Linked DNA regions of Homo sapiens: region 1 is linked to region 2. The links are contacts of gene promoters, found by promoter capture Hi-C in blood cells and fetal thymus (Javierre and others, 2016). All regions are on one chromosome and are shown on one strand. Each heading gives the region's core, a stretch centred on a gene start or on the middle of the fragment in contact. The rest is flanking DNA. Distances are from core to core; before and after follow the strand shown.

Region 1 (4,998 bases), core at 628-3,127, 220 kb after region 2:
TATAAAGTGCAATCTAAAATTTAGAAAACAATATGCAGATACTGTAAAAGAAAATGTTCCTAAATTTAACATAAAATAGTTGTCATTTTAAAAATACTTTAAATAAAGTCAGAAGATAAATAATACACTAAGGAAAATATTTGAAACATATTAAAGATCTTTTAAGAGATTAACAAACTGATAGAAAAATGGTCAAGGTAGTTAACAGATAAAGAAATACAATGACCAATCATCATGAGTGATACTTAATCACACTCATATACAAATTAAAGCTGTAGTGATTAAGAGTCTTGCAAACCTTAACATTAAAGGTCTTAGAAAAAAATCAGCTCTCTCTAACAGTTGATAGGTATGTCTATTGTTTTAATTTTTGTAAAGGGCAGTTTGTCAGTATCTTTGAAATTTTATGTGTCTGCAGTGACCCAGCAATTCTAGGCTGTTCCCATACAGTTGCACAAAGTGTGTGCATTGACACATTATCTGTTTTTTTCCAAATCCCTTAGACTATACTTGAGTATAATCTAGCAAATATCTTTCAAATTCAAAATGCTTATACCATTTGATCTAATAAATTCCACTTTAAGGAATTTACCCTATGCCATAATCACAGTTGCACAAACGTACATGTGCAAGGATATTATACCTAGAATAGATAAAAAAAGAAAAGAAAGTTACAGACGAGTAAGAATAGTATAAGCTCATTTACTTATTTAGAAAAAAAGTCCCTGTAGCTAGTTAATTATATATAGGCAGTCTCTGAGAATACAGGTAAGCTTAATAGTACTTAACCTCTGGGAAGTGGAATAAGAATTAGATGAAGACTTAATTTTCTCTATACCTTTTGATTTGCTTGTTTGTGACAGGGTCTCATTCCTGTCACCCAGGCTGGAATGCAATGGCACAATCATGGCTCACTGCAGCCCGACTTGCTGGGGTCAGGTGATCTCCCACATCAGCCTACTGAGTAGCTGGAACTATAGGCACACTCCACTACACCCCGCTAATTTTTGTATTTTTTTGTAGAGATGGGGTTTCGCCATGTTGCCCAGGCTGGTCTCAAACTCCTGGGCACTTGCCTCGTTGTCCCAAAGTGCTGGGGGTTTGATTTGTTTTTGATTTGCTTTTTAACGTGTGTATTCCAGGAGGTTTTATGGGGAAAGAATGATTTAACAAACAGAAAAAAAAAAAATAGGTAGCAGTTAAAATAAGCTTGGTCAATATGGTATGATAGGATCCCATTCAAAATAACTCTTTAAGGCTGGGCTCAGTGGCTCACACTTGTAATCCTAACACTTTAGGAGGCCAAGGCAGGGAGATGGCTTGAATCCAAGGGTTCGAAACCAGCCTAGGCAACATGGCGAAACCTCGTTTCTACAAAAAATTAGCCGGGTGTGGTGGTTCACACCTGTAGTCCCAACTACTTAGAAGGCTGAGGTGGGAGGATCACCTAAGCTCAGGAGGTCGAGGCTGTCGTGAGCCAAGATCATGCCACTGTACTGCAGCCTGGGTGACAGAGTAAGACTCTGTTTCAGAAAACAAAAAGCAAAATAACTCTTTTATAATAAGAGTACTAGTCACTTTGCTAGATATTTTGCGTACAATATATCATTTCATCCTCACAACAACCTTTGAAGAATAGGAAGAGACTTATTAAATATAAGGTAACTTAGCCTCAAAAGAGTTAAGTAACTTGCCCAGGGTTACATAGCTTATAAGTGATGGAGCTAGAATTTTAATCCTGGTCTTATTCTAAAGACCTAATAACCAGGCTTCTAATTTCTTATAATTCTTTCTTGTGTCCCCACTTTACTTGCAAAAAAACTGGAGACACTTGTAAACAGTTTCCCTAAGCACCAAAAAATACATCTGTAGCAGAAATCACCTGGGGAATCTTTCAGTCTGTGGATGTCAGAGCTCCACCCCAGAAGAAGAATCTCCAGAGAGGGGTCTTGGAAATCATTTTTTGTTGGCTTTGTTGTTCTGTTGTTTCTTTTAGCTCCCTTACTTAGTAGGCAAATATCTTAGTATTTTTTAAATAAAGTAGATATAGCTTGAAAAAGGGGGCAGTTGATAAATTAAGGAGGCAACAGTTTTGAATTTCTACATAGCATTTTTTTCTAATTATATGTAATTTACACTAATAAAAACTAGTTTAAGAATAGTATAAAATGTTAGGTTGAACAATATGAAATTGCTCATAATTGACCATTTTTTACCTATAAAAATGGCAATTTTATATTTCACTGTGTTTATGTTTCTCAGTTTTTCCCCCAGGGATATGTTTCTGTTAGTGCAGCCATACCATTTAAGTTTTTATTCTAAAATTTAACTTTTGTCATTTCTTGTTCCAGTGATTGCAGTAATAGCGGCCACCCTCTTCCCCCTTTGGCCAGCAGAAATGAGAGTAGGTGTTTATTACCTCAGTGTGGGTGCAGGCTGTTTTGTAGCCAGTATTCTTCTCCTTGCTGTTGGTAAGTATTGTTATTATAAAATTGACCTCAAGAAGGTTGGTATTGAGCAGTTGGACTGTAATTTGGAGCTTCAGTAAAGCTTAAGAAAAATTAATGGAGGTAAATCAAGAAATATATGGTACTACTTTCTGAGTCAAATCTCAAAACTCAGGCTTGGTAAGATGTGTTCTGTCTGCAGAAAAAGGATTTAATACATCTTTAAAAAAATTTTTTAATAAGATTATTTTTTATTGACAGATCATAATTGTATACATTTATGGGGTACAATGTGATGTTTTGGTGTATGTGTACAATGTGGAATGTTTAAATCAAGCTAATTAACATAATTAGCATATTGATCACCTTTCTTGCCTATCATTTATTGTGAGACATTTGAAATTTACTTATTTTGAAATATACCATACATTATTATATCTTAATCTGCAAATAGATGTGCTTTAAAAATTAGTTATGGCAGAGGCGTTTAATATTTTTGCAGTGGTAGATCATTTATTAGACATAATACTTTCAGTAAAACATTTTTTAATTTTGACTTAGAACAAATGCAACATCTAAATAATCTATGCATATATTTAATAAATGATTCTAAACAATTGATTTGCCATTTTGGGAAAAATCAATAATTTTCACCCAAGTACCAAAATACTAGATGCAATAAGGAGTTAATGTTTTAAAAATCAAATAGGAAAACATAAGTAAATGAATTTTCCGCATTTCTGGATGATTGGGGTCTTTCATAGATTATTTGTTTAGAGGCAGGGTCTTGCTCTGTCACCCAAGCTGAAGTGCAGTGGTGAGATCATAGCTCACTGCAGCCTTGAATTCCTGGGCTTAAGCAATCCTCCTGCCTCAGCCTCCCAAGTAGCTAGGAGTACTGGTGCATTTCATCATGCCTGGCTTTTTGTGGGGGAGATAGGGTATCACTCTGCCCAGGCTAGTCTCGAACTCCTGACCTCAGGTGATCTGCCCTCCTTGGCCTCCCAAAGTGTTGGGATTACAGGCGTGAACCACCACGCCCAGCCTCCTTCCTCTGATTTGGTAACCTCTGGCAGCAGAAAAATCCCCTGCTGGTTTTGCATGGAACACGGGCACATTTGTAGGCCAAGAAACAATATCTAAGCCTGTTTGAATTTAGTGTCAGTGTAATACCTGCATCAAGAAGGAAAAGTCATAAACTTTGATCTGACATTAGACATAATAAAATTGGTGCTTTTTGCCTTTCAAATTCCTGAAATTTAGAAACTCCTTGGAAATTTTTAGCAAAGGTTTAGCTCCACTGAATAGAATTATTCTACTTGCTTATTTTTAAATTAAACCAGTGTTCACAATAGTTTATGGTTATTATGTAGTTTTGCTGTTTAAAATATTGTTTCTTCAGTAGTCTCTTTAAATAAATTTTCATTGTAAATATGCTGTGGATTTAAATATGCATTATGAACCAAATAGTCTTCTGAATTATACCAGGAAACAAACCCAACATTTTATTTTGATTCTCTTAGAAAATGCAATTCCAAATATACTTTCAAATAATTAGATATTTCTTTTATATTATTCTTTGAAGTCTTTATATATATTATGTATATCGCATATAATATATATCATGTATATTATATATGAATATATATGATATATAGATATATGATATATCATAATATTATATATCATATATATCATATAATATATATCATATGATATGTCATATATATTATATGATATCTCATATTTATATGAAATATATTTTTATATATATTCATTTTTTGGAGACAGGGTCTTGCTCTGTTGCCCAGGGTAAAGTACCATGGCAGAATCATAGCTCACTGTACCCTCAAACTCCTGGGCTCAAGCAGCCCTCCCACCTTAGCCTCCTGAATAGCTGGGACTATAGGAGCATGTTGCCATGCCTAGCTAATTTTTTTTTTTAAAGTCAGGGTCTTGAAATATTATGTATTGGTCACAATTATATCTGGTGTTTCTTTGAATATGCATTATTAATAATGCCATTTAAAATAAAACCTTTGGCAGTTTTCTAAAATCTGTCGCTTTTAGCATAGGAATGTTATTATAGTACATGTCACAGCTTCCCCATAATTCTTCCCTTTTCACTCTCGGTAATCTAGTGCCACATAGCGAAAAACTGTAAAACATGAACATTTTGCCATACCATTTGTATGTGATAAGAAATTAGGTTAGTGCCATTTCTATATTGCTTTTTCTTTGGTTTGATACAAGATTTCATATTATGAATCATCTGTCTTACAATCCTGTAAAACCTATCATTGCATCATAATTGGAGAAAAAAATGTACAGCCTCCTTAAATTCATTATCTCTGTTTATCAGTGGAATTTATTCTTAAATCATAATTTTAAGCATATTTACCTTTTCCGTTTATACCACGAAAGATTCTAATGTGTACAGGAGTCTTTCAGAATATTTATATTCTTGTGAAAATAAAAATTGCTATTTTTAAAAGTCAAGACAGCTATAACGATTTTCTTCCATTTATACAAAGCAAAATAATGGAAGACA
Region 2 (5,160 bases), core at 2,632-5,131:
GTCTTGATGAGGTAAAAAGAGGGGAGTAATCCACCATAAATTGTAACGATTTTTTTTTTTGAGACGGAGTCTTGCTCTTTCGCCCAGGCTGGATGGAGTCTAGTGGCGTGATCTCGGCTCACTGCAACCTCTGCCTCCCGGGTTCAAGCGATTCTCGTGTCTCAGCCTCCTGAGTAGCTGGGATTACAGGCGCCTGCCACCACGCCCAGCTAGTTTTTGTGTTTTTAGTAGAGACGGGGGTTTCACCATGTTGCCCAGGCTGGTCTCGAACGCCAGGGCTCAAGTGATCCACCCGCTTCGGCCTCCCAAAGTGCTGGGATTACAGGTATGAGCCACCGCACCCGGCCGCGAATTTTTATAATGGCCAGTATAGTGCAGTTTTACATATAAATGACAGGATGATCTTAAAAGTTTTACTCGTATTCAGTTAGATAAACTCCGTGGAGTTGTCGCTGTCGGTCCTCGATCTGAAAGAAAAGTAAAATATCTCCCTCTCCATCTCTCTCCCTCCTTCTCTCTCTCCCATCCCCTTTTTCTTTCATAGCATCTGCCAGGTTGTAAAGTTTTTTACGGACAGAATCTGACTCCTGTTTTTAGCACTATTGCACTTAGCACAGTACCTTACATAGAGTAGATGCTAAATGCTTTGAGTTATATGTCAACACTACCACCATTCTCTTAGCATCCCACATTATCTCAAACCCTTCTTTCCCCTTCATATCTAAGTAGGCACTAAATCTTGTCAGTTTTCATAATTTCTTTTTTTAAATTCCTATTGCTTATAATCTTGAGTACAAGACTTGGCACTTTATATGTGGACTAGTAACTTTCTAACTGATCACCAAATCTCCAGGGCCTTCCTCATTCAATTTATTCTCCAAACTATCACATTCATCATAACATAGTTTCCTTATGGCTCCTGCTTTTAAATCTTTAATTTCTCTCCTTTGCATATTGGATATTTAGCACTTTAAGCCTTTCAGTCCCTGGCCTTCACTTAACCTTGCTAGTCATAGCGCTTGTTCTGCTCTATATGAGCTCTTGACTTGAACAAAATCAGTCTAAACTTAGGCGTGGTGGTGCATACCTGTGGATTCAGTTACTTGGGAGGCTGAGGGCAGAGCCCAGGAGTTGGAGGCTGCAGTGAGCTATGATTGCACTACTGCACTCCAGCCTGGGACACAGGGCAAGACTCTGCCTCTAAAACTAAATAAATGAATAAATACATACATAAACAAAAATTTTAAAAACAAAATCAGTCTATTAAACATGCCCTGAATATGCTTTGTTCATTCTCATCTTTAGCAACTTGTTCATTTTAGTATGCTTGCCTGGATATCTGCGCTCCATCCCAATGCCACCCCTTCCATGATGGCATACCTCTGCTATGGAGTCTCGTTCCTCACCACAGCAACCTTCTTTCCCTAAACTTCAATAAGCTTAAATCTTATCACTCATTTGGCACATAGCATATTGTACCACAAATGCTCTCTTCCAAGGGAAATATAAGCTCACCAACGTCAAGTTATAGAAGAAACACTATGGGAAACATTATTTTAACTTGGTTCTACTCAATAGACATCTGTTCTTGAGCTTCACCATTATTATCCCCCAAACCCATTATAGAAATACAACAGAAATATTGGCATCCCAATAGGTGAAGTATTTTCTCTTCTCCCAGAAACATATAATATCCAAAGTTTTCTGTCACATATACTCAAAACATTTTCTTCCAACCATTTTATCTGTATTTCAGAAGCATCTTTGGTGTACTATGTTGGGTCCAACTTCTTTAAATTCTGCAGCAGTGATCCACATGTCCTGGAAGGCAGACAAGGATGCAAGAATAGAACCTCCCATCCACACTGATATTTTCCTTTCTGGAGGAGCTATAACTTGCACAGCGGTGTTGGCAGGAGCCACCTTTGCTATATCCTTAACTAACCGCTTGTCTAAACCAGGGAAAGAGGTTGATCCCCCGGCAAGGATAATATTGGAAAAGAAGGAATTCCTCAGGCCTGTATCACATTTCATTATGCTGCTGAAGCATATCTTATCAATGCCAGGGGCCTCAAGGTTCATATGACACGGAGAGAAGAGGGCCTCTGGACAAGAAAAGAGCTGGTCATGGAGCTGGATGACCTTCCCATCAGGTAGTTGGTAAACTTTCTCTAGACAATCGGGTTTCTTGGCCATTTCCTCTTCGTAGTTCATTGCCACATAACAAAAGCTCTCCTTGATGTCTTCAACAATCTTTCTGTCTGAAGCACTGAGCAACATGATACCATGGTTCTTCATTAGCACCATGAGGTAGTTGGTGAGGTCAAGGCCTGCCAGATCCAGTTGCTGCACACCATGAGGCAGACAGTAACCCTCAAAGATGGGCACACTCTGGGTAACCCCAGCACCTGAATTCAGCACAAGGCCAGTAGTGAAGCCAGCAGCAAAGAGAGCCAGCACAGCCTGGATGGACATATAGAAGGCAGGAACACCCAGATGCTCAAAAAACATTTCCGTGATCTGTTGCCGGTTGGCCAGTGGGTTCAGCGCTGGCTCAGTAATCAAGACTGGGCCATCACACGGCTTCAGCTTTAGGTTATAGTCATAGATATGCTTCCACATGATCTCCATGTCCTCCCATGAAGTAATGAGACCACGCTCCACTGGGTAACTGTAAGGAAAGCAATAAGATCAATGACAGCTTTTTATTTTTCTAGTTTCTATTGTCTTCGACCCTCAGTTAATTCCCCGCGTTTATTACCAATATCCCTTTATGGGCAATAACTGCCACAGCCTCTCACAGCAGGTAAGTGTCAGCCAAAAATAGCACAGCTACTTACCTCTGCAATTTTTTTTTTTTTTTTTGGAGACAGAGTCTCGCTCTGTCACCCAGGCTGGAGTGCAGTGGCGCGATCTCAGCTCACTGCAAGCTCCGCCTCCCGGGTTCACGCCATTCTCCTGCCTCAGTCTCCTGAGTAGCTGGGACTACAGGCGCGCGCCACCACGCCCGGCTAATTTTTTTGTATTTTTAGTAGAGACGGGGTTTCACCGTGTTAGCCACGATGGTCTCGAACTCCTGACCTCGTGATCCGCCCTGCTCGGCCTCCCAAAGTGCTAGGATTACAGGCGTGAGCCACCGCGCCCGGCCTACCTCTGCGATTTTTGTTGCTTTCCATTTTCTCTGTCCTTTGGAACCTTGTGACTTTTAAAAAATTGGGAAATGTCCACATTATAGTATAGTTTAAATGTCAATTGAAGAGAATAACCCAAGTGACAAAAGGGACCATGAGTTAATATTCTTAAATGAATTCGTTCGATAACTTTATACGTTTTAATACATTTGTATAGCCACAGAGAGCAAAATGTTCAGTTTTTAGATGTGTGGTACCCTTGGAGATTTGTGGCCCGTGCGTTTGTAGTAATTCCAGCTGGATGGGGCTTTCCAGCTCCCGGCTTTCTTATTCTTTCTGTCCCCATTGCGCACCTCCTTTGGGGTCCTTTCCTGCCCCCCGACAACACCCCCAGTCCCCCCACCCCCAGCCACCCCAGCCCCACCCCCCAACCTCCCCAGCCCCACCCTACCCCACCCCCACCCCACCCACCCTCCCCAGCCCCAGCAGCCTGCTGGGAGAAGGAGGTACCTGATGAACAGCGAGCTCCTCCAGTCCTGAGCTTGGTCGCCCACGCAGAGTTCTAGCCCGCCCTGGGCCGCGCGGCTCTGGCCCTTGGCGCGGCCGATAATGTTCGGGTAGATAAACTGGGGCTCCCGGCACCCAGCCACGCCCGCCTTGATCATTCCCGAGCCGTTGTCGATCACCACCGGTAGCTGGCAGTGGTTCATGCCGCCGCTGCTGCCGCCGCCTCCTGTCTCTGAGCCGCTCTAGCTACGGGCTCGGCCGGGGCCGAGTGCCTGGAACGCCGCGTCACAGAGGCCCCGGCACGGCCGGGTGAGGCCAGAGTCCTGGGGGCGCAGGCAGGGGGTCGGCAGGGCCCCAGGCGGAAGGACTCGCTGGACGCACCGTGCTCCTCATGTTACCGCCCGCTATTGCTTCTCGCAGGAATTGGGCCACCCCAACACCTGGAATCCCGGAATCCCAGTATCAGGAAAACCCGACTTTCGCATCAAAAGATTCAACTCTAACCCTTCACAAGTGCATTTCTCAAATACCCAGAAGAGCTATAACAGCAGTTTTATTTTCCAAAGCCACGGAATTCTGGTTAACTGGTGGCGGTTCCGGGGAGTTCTAGAATTCGCCCTTGAAACTGGGGAAAAATGAGACTTAAGAGGAGAAAGTTGTTGCAGGAAGGGAGGCAGTGTCTGCTTCTGAAATGTTAAACTTCTAAAATAAGGAGAAAAATGCTGGAATTTAAATGAGTTTTAAGTACGTTTATTATTGTTTCTGTACCTTGGGCAATGCTTTGTTGTGTTTCTTCCTGTGATTTCCAAGCAAAATGTACGCAATTAAAACAAAATAGTAGTTCCTAGCTTAAATATGTAAATAAATATAAATTTATATATATTTATATAAATATATATAAATTTAAATATAAAATATTAAAAAATATATAAATTTATATAATTTATATAAATATATGTTATATTATATAAATATATTTATATATTTATAAAATATATATTTATATATTTAAGCAAGGATATAAATCGAAATATATATATTTATATTTATTATATGTATAAATATAAATATATAAAAATTTATATTTATATTTATTATATGTATAAATATAAATATATAAAAATTTATATTTATATATCATAAATATAAATATATAAAAATTTATATTTATATATCATAAATATAAATATATAAAAATTTATATTTATATATCATAAATATAAATATATAAAAATTTATATTTATATATCATAAATATATAAAAATTTATATTTATATATCATAAATATATAAAAATTTATATTTATATATCATATATAAAAATTTATATTTATATATCATATATAAAAATTTATATTTAGATATCATATATAAAAATTTATATTTAGATATCATATATAAAAATTTATATTTAGATATCATATATAAAAATTTATATTTAGATATCATATATAAAAATTTATATTTAGATATCATATATAAAAATTTATATTTAGATATCATAAATAAAAATTTATATTTA

The links. The method cuts DNA at HindIII sites, captures the fragments that hold promoters and counts their contacts. A CHiCAGO score of 5 or more calls a contact.
Region 1: a contact is called between a fragment that was not itself captured here and the fragment with the promoter of ACTRT3 in region 2, in 2 of 17 cell types (naive CD4 T cells and activated CD4 T cells). The highest score is 6.0, in naive CD4 T cells.

Annotation. Positions count from the first base shown.
Region 1 is chr3:169,985,889-169,990,886 of GRCh38, forward strand. SEC62 (SEC62 preprotein translocation factor) reads left to right here. Exons shown (of 8, transcript NM_003262.4): 7 at 2,352-2,471. Among named protein-coding and RNA genes, the nearest start is that of SEC62, 22 kb to the left of the region's middle. The HindIII fragment of the contact is 1,341 bases long and covers 1,208-2,548 here.
Region 2 is chr3:169,765,680-169,770,839 of GRCh38, forward strand. ACTRT3 (actin related protein T3) reads right to left here and starts at 3,882. Exons shown (of 2, transcript NM_032487.5): 1 at 3,642-3,882; 2 at 1,242-2,671. The coding sequence starts at 3,841. The coding sequence ends at 1,753. RefSeq lists a promoter at 1-179, enhancers at 2,605-2,749, 3,611-3,870, 3,962-4,106, cis regulatory regions at 2,677, 4,034 and a silencer at 3,951-4,020. The HindIII fragment of the contact is 4,942 bases long and covers 1,438-5,160 here.